Linked DNA regions of Homo sapiens: region 1 is linked to region 2. Evidence: promoter capture Hi-C in human tissues and cell types (Jung and others, 2019). All regions are on one chromosome and are shown on one strand. The core of a region is centred on a gene start or on the middle of the fragment in contact, and the rest is flanking DNA. Distances in the headings are between cores, read along the strand shown.

Region 1 (3,455 bases), core at 449-2,948, 61 kb after region 2:
ATATTTCTTGAAAATGGATCCATCTTCCTCATATTTTTACTTACCTCATAAGATGTGAGTATCTTAACTCCTACTATAAATCCAGTTTCTATTATTGTATAAATTATGTAAGTACAAAGAGGATATAGATATAAATTTAACCCTCTGTAAGTCTAAGAAATCTGAGAGAGGATGGTGGGGAGTAAGAATGGGGAGAAAGGGTTGGGAAAATAATTGTAGCCTTGAAGAAATGAGGGATTGATTTAGAATTTAGAAAGTTATGGAAAGTATATCAACTTTTAACTTGGAACTTATCAGCAAACTGAGCTCTTAAGACTTCTTTGTATTTTTTTTTACATAAATAGAAATGGTAGTGTATTATAAGAATAGCTTTAGCACAATGCTATTTGGAAAAGAATAATCTACTTATTAGGTAATTGTGCTGTTTAATTTTGTAGCTAAATTTTGCTATTATTTCTTCTCCTATCTTTTTAAAAAAGGAAAATTTTAAAGAAAGGTAACCATAGGTTTTTTTTTTTTTTGAGAAAATCCAAGCTTGCTTTTTCAATAATGATGATGTTGATTCTGATGTTCACTTATTGAGTGCTTAGTACATTCTTGGTACCATAAGTGCTTTTCCTGCATTTTCTTATTTTAAGTAATATTATTATTGTTATTATTATTATTATTATTATTTGAGATGGAGTCTGTCTCTTGTTAACCAGACTGGAGTGCAGTGGCATGATCTCGGCTCACTGCAACCTCCACCTCCTGGGTTCAAGTGATTCTCCTGCCTCAGCCTCCTGAGTAATTGGGATTATAGGTGTCTGCCACCACGCCCAGCTAATTTTTGTATTTTTAGTAGAGACGGGGTTTCACCATGTTGGCCAGGCTGGTCTCGAACTCCTGACCTCAGGTGATCTGCCCACCTTGGCCTCCCAAAGTGCTGGGATTACAAGCGTGAGCCACCACACCCGGCCTTATTTTAATTAATATTATTATTTTATATTGTGTATCTTTTAAAAATTTATTTTAGATTCAAGGGGTGGGTAGGTCTGCGGGTTTTTACATTGATATGTTACCTAACAGTTGGGTTTGGACTTCTAGTGTACCCATTACCCGAGTAGTAACCGTTGTACCCAATAGGTAATTTTTCAACCCTCGCTTCCCTCCTAGCCTCCGCTCTTTTGGAATTCCCAGTTTCTATTATTTCCTTCTTTATGTCCATGTGTTCCCATTGTTTAGTTCCCACTTACAAGTGAGAGGATATGGTATTTGTCTGTTTCTAAGTTATTTCACTTAGGATAATGGCTTCCAACTGCAGTCATGTTGCTGCACAAGACTATTTTGTTCTTTTTTGTGACTACATTTTCTTTGTTCAATCCAAAGTAGGTTGTTAATTTGAGATCTCTCTTTTTGATGTAGGCATGCAATGCAATAAACTTTACTCTTAGCATTGCTTTTGCTGTATCCAAGAGGTTTTGGTATGTTGTATCTCTATTTTCATTCTTTTTTTTATTTGTCTTGATTTTATTGCTTAGCCAAAAGTCATTCAGGATCAAGTTGTTCAGTTTCCATTTGCTCATGTAGTTTTGAGAGTTCCTCTTGATATTGATTTGTAATTTTATTCCACTGTGGTCTGAGAAGATACTTGATATTTTTGATTTTTTTTAATTTATTGAGATTTTGCATTTTAGCCAAGCATGTGGTCAGTTTGGGGGAATGTTCCATGTTCAGATGAGAAAAACGTATATTCTGCAGTTGTGGGTAGAATGATCTGTAAATGTCTGTTAGGTCCATTTGGTCTAGATTCTAGTTTAAGTCCAGAGTTTCTTTGTTGACTTTCTGCCTCAATGACCTATCTAGTGTTTTCAGTGGGGTGTTGAAGTCCACCACTATTATTGCATTGCTGTCAATCTCTTCTTAGGTGTAGGTGTTGTTTTATGAATCTGGGTGCTCCAGTGTTGGGTGTGTATAAAATTAATTCTTGGTTTTGTTTTAAACTTCGTCAGTATATAATGCCTTTCATTTTGCTTCTTTCTTTCTTTACTATTGTCAGTTTAAAGTCTATTTTATCTGATGTAAGAATGGCTACTCGTGGCCGGGCACAGTGGCTTATTCCTGTAATCCCAGCACTTTCGGAGGTCGAGGAGGGCAGATTGCTTGAAGTCAGGAGTACAAGATCAGCCTGGCCAACATGGTGAAACCTCGTCTCTACTGAAAATACAAAAATTAGCCAGGTGTGGTCGCACATGCTTGTAATCCCAGCTACTCAGGAGGCTGAGGCAGGAGAGTCACTTGAACCTAGGACGGGGAGGTTGCAGTGAGCCGAGGTTGCACCACAGCACTCCATCCTGGGCAACAGAGCGAGAACCTGTCTCAAAAAAGTAAAAAAGAATGGCTACTCCTGCTTGCTTTTATTTTTCATTTGCGTAGTATATCTTTTTCCATCCCTTTACTTTGAGTCTGTAGGTGTCTTTTGTCATTGAGGGGGTCTCTTCTAGGCAATAGATGGTAGTGTCTTGTTTTTTATCCAACATGCCATTCTATATCTTTTTTTTTAAGAGACGGAGTCTCGCTCTGTCGCCCAGGCTGGAGTGCAGTGGCGTGATCTCAGCTCACTGCAACCTCCACCTCCCAGGTTCAAGCAGTTCTTCTGCCTCAGCCTCCTGTGTAGCTGGGACTACAGGTGCATGCCACCAGGCCCAGCTAATTTTTTGTATTTTAGTAGAGACAGGTTTTCACCATGTTGCCCAGGCTAGTCTCGAACTCCTGAGTTCAGGCAGTCCGCCCTCAGTCTCCCAAAGTGGTAGGATTACAGGCGTGAGCCACTGCACCTGGCCACTCTATATATTTTAAGTGGAGCATTTATGCCATTTCTGTTCAAGGTTAATATTGAAATGTGAGGTTTTCTTCCTGTCATAGTGTTGTGGGTAGTTGCCTTGGGGCCTTAATTGTGTAATTATAGGATCTGTGAGCTTTCTGCTTGCATGTGCTTTTATGTTGGTGAGTGTCATCCTTTCATTTCTATATTTAGAACTCCTTTGAGCATTTATTATAGGTCTGTTCTAGTGGTGATGAATTCCCCTTGATTTGCTTGTCTGGGAAATACTTTATTTTTCCTTCATTTATGAAGCTTGGTTTGGCAGGATATAAAATTCTTGGCTGGCAATTTTTGTCTTTAAAGAGATGAAAAATAGACCCCCAATCTCTTCCTGCTTGTAAGGTTTCTGCTGAGAAGTCTGATGGGATTTCCTTTATAGGTGATTTGACACTTCTTTCTAGCTGCTTTTAAGATTTGTTCTTTTATGTTGGCCTTGGGTGGTCTGGCCACTATATGCTTTTGTGAGGTTTGTCTTGTATCATTATCTCCCAGTTGTTACCTGGATTTCTTGTCTGGATATCTATCACTGTAATGAGATTGGGGAAATTTTCCTGAATTATTTCCTCAAATATGCTTTCTAAACTTCCTACTT
Region 2 (3,197 bases), core at 307-2,806:
TCCATGAAATTGGCTGAATAATTACTCCTCTGCCTGGCGTAGACATGCGCTTTGGGAAAAAAACGAGTTTATAATCCTATAATGAAGAATACTGGCACAGGCAATGCTCACTCGAAAACTTCAAGTAATTTCTAGTTGGTTTTGGAATGCTTGATAAAGTTCCTTTACAGCTTTATTTTCCTGATTTGTTTTGGTTTAGATCAAAGTTCAAATTAATTTTAACTTAGCTAATGAACTCATCACCAGGACAGTTGGAGGGGGTAGGCCGAGGTTAAATGGTCCACGTTTCAAAAATGTTAATGGCTAATCCATAATTAAAGAAGGTTTAACTGTTACTGAAGTTTACAAGTTTTATTGTCATGAACATGAAATACAAACACGATGGCTTCGAAATGTCTTTCAATAAATGTTTCTGCATTTATATGGATTATATGATATATATACACAGTCTATATATCTCTATGTAGTCTATTTATTTATTTTGAGAGGGAGTCTCGCTTTGTCTCCCAGACTGGAGTGCAATGGCATGATCTCAGCTCACTGCAAACTCGGCTTCCCGAGTTCAGGTGATTCTGGTGCCTCACCCTCCCGAGTGGCTGGGAATACAGGCGCACGCCACGACGCAGGGCTAATTTTTGTATTTTTACTAGAGACGGGCTTTCACCATGTTGGCCAGGCTGGTCTTGAACTGCTGACCTCAAGTGATATGACTGCCTCAGTTTCCCTAAGTGCTAGGATTACAGGCGTGAGCCACCACGCCTGGCCTGTAGTCTATATTTTATTCTTTTTTTTTTTTTCTGAGACAGTCTCAGCTCTGTCGCCCAGGCTGGAGTGCAGTGGAACGATCTCAGCTCGCTGCAACTTCCGTCTCCCAGGTTCAAGCAATTCTCCTGCCCCAGCCTCCCAAGTAGCTGGGATTACAGGCGTGCACCACCACGCCCAGCTAATTTTGTGTAATTTTTAGTAGAGACGGGGTTTCACCATGTTGGTCAGGCTGGTCTCGAACTCCTGACCTCAAATGATCGGCCCGCCTCGGCCTCCCAAAGTGTTGGGATTACAGGAGTGAGCCACTGCGCCCGGCCTTGTAATCTATATTTTAAAATAAATACTAAGGCAGCAGTGCCTAGTGAGAGCTGTGGAGTGCTGCAGTTTTGACATTTAGACTACCTGCAGTCTAATCACATATTTTACAGCTTAAATCACCGGACCCAGTGTGTCTGTTCACACAGCAAGCCAGAGGCACGCACCTCCTGATTTCGGGAGACTTCCCACCACCCCACCCCGCCCAGTTACTAGCACCCTGCCCCAGCCTATTTATACCTGGCTCTTCGCAAACTTTGTCCTCCATTCTTCTCAATATGCTTGTACTAGAAAACTACCTTCCCTCCTTTTCTTCCTGCTGTTCTCGCTTCATCCATTAAATAGTTTTTTCCCTATCCTAAATTTTAACAATTCTTTACGATAAGACACATGCGAAGATCGCAAGCCCTGCCCATTGACAAGACTTCCTGGTTCTACCCCCGCCGCCGTTCCACTTCCGCTGACGTCGGAGGTCAGAGGTTACAGACAAGATGTCGGCGGATGGTAGCTTCGAGCCCTTGCGGAGAGGAGCATCTCTGTGACAGAAGCTTGTCGACGGCGGCTTCTAGGAGCTAGTCGAAGGAGCGAGGTTGAGGCGGGCAGCGACCCGTCAGGTCGCTCACCTGGGCACCGGCCAGCTGCGAGACGTGACTTGGGGACCGCAGGGGAGTGGAGAGTGTGAGGTGCCAAAGACTAGTAATGCCCCGTATCCCCCTAGGAAGCCGGGAAGCCAAGCTCCGCGGGACCGCTTCATGCCGCTGACTGGTGTAGAGCCCGCCAGAATGAACAGGAAGAAAGGAGACAAGGGCTTTGAAAGCCCAAGGCCATATAAATTATAAGTATTTTTTCATTTCCCTTCCTTCCTTTTGGTTTTGTTGCCATTAATTATATTTTGCGATTGCTTGAAATTGACTTGGTGGGCCTGGGAAACCTAGTGGGAAACTAGAATTTACTCACTGTGATGGAAATGGTGTTTGTAAGGTAAAAATGTTTTGAATGACAGGTTATTCAGCAAATTTAATTCCCGTTGCAAGTTACTAAAGTTTTTGTCTAAGTACTAGATTGTATTTCTGTCAAATCTGTTTTCGTGACTGTTGCTAGATTTTAAAAAATTATCCCAATTGGTAGAGTGTTTTTTTTTTTTTAATTTTTTAATTTTTAAGACGGAGTCTCTCAGTCGCCCAGGCTGGAGTGCAACGGCGCGATCTCGGCTCACTGCAGCCTCCACCTGCCGGGTTCAAGCTTTTCTCCTGGCTCAGCCTCCTGAGTAGCCGGGATTACAGGCGTGTGCCACGATGCCCGGCTAACTTTTGTATTTTTAGTAGAGACTCGGTTTCACTCTGTTGGCCAGGCTGGTCTCGAACTCTTGACCTCGTGATCCGCTTGCCGTGGCCTCCCAAAGTGCTGGGATTACAGGCGTGAGCCACCGCACCAGGCCCCAATTCGTAGTTTTAAAATGAAATATTGACATGTAATTTTGAATTACTTAGAACATAGTCCTAATTTATACTTGGATAGAATTATACTTTGATTTAATAATAAAAATTATTTTTTCCTTATTTTCTTTTTATATTTATTAATATACAACCCATCAGGTCGTCTGCATCAACAACATAAATTTCCAGAGAAAATCTGTTGTGGTAAGTTTATTCTCAACAATTATAAATAGTAACAAGTCCACTATAAAGAGTAACAATCCACCCCTCACAGTACTTAGAAAGTTTGTAGTCTTCCAGATAATTGTGTTTCAAGAATAGGTAAGAATTAAAATTAGGGTCTGTATGATTACAAGTTCCATGGTCCTTCTATTAATACCTATTGCCTCCCAAATTCTCCCTTTCCTTTTTTTTCAATTTCCTAATTAAAATTTTATTCCTCTTTATCTGGTGTATAATATGAAAGCCTGTATAGCCAAGCATTTTATAATTGTGCATGAAACAAGTATAAGCCCATAGCGACATTTCTTCTATGAAAAAAATTAAGATTAATACACTCACTGACTTGGCTTCTAAGAGGCCATTTTTGCTTCTTGACTGACTTGGTTTAGGTGATGTTGCTTTGTAATGAAGTTTTAGATAGAGTATTTGAGATCTAGAAACCCTCTACCTCCCCCTGCC

What was found. Contacts are between HindIII fragments. The study calls those that stand out against the background at their distance.
Region 1: a contact is called between a fragment that was not itself captured here and the fragment with the promoter of TAF2 in region 2, in 1 of the 25 tissues and cell types used here (mesendoderm cells).

Annotation. Positions count from the first base shown.
Region 1 is chr8:119,770,159-119,773,613 of GRCh38, reverse strand. The region is part of intron 18 of TAF2 (TATA-box binding protein associated factor 2); the gene reads left to right. Among named protein-coding and RNA genes, the nearest start is that of TAF2, 61 kb to the left of the region's middle. The HindIII fragment of the contact is 3,653 bases long and covers 1-3,455 here.
Region 2 is chr8:119,831,200-119,834,396 of GRCh38, reverse strand. TAF2 (TATA-box binding protein associated factor 2) reads left to right here and starts at 1,556. Exons shown (of 26, transcript NM_003184.4): 1 at 1,556-1,915; 2 at 2,666-2,720. The coding sequence starts at 1,833. DSCC1 (DNA replication and sister chromatid cohesion 1) reads left to right here. Exons shown (of 9, transcript NM_024094.3): 9 at 1-421. LOC105375728 (a long non-coding RNA gene) reads right to left here and starts at 1,518. Exons shown (of 4, transcript XR_928590.3): 1 at 1,321-1,518. RefSeq lists enhancers at 1,435-1,794, 1,855-1,904. The HindIII fragment of the contact is 6,114 bases long and covers 1-1,975 here.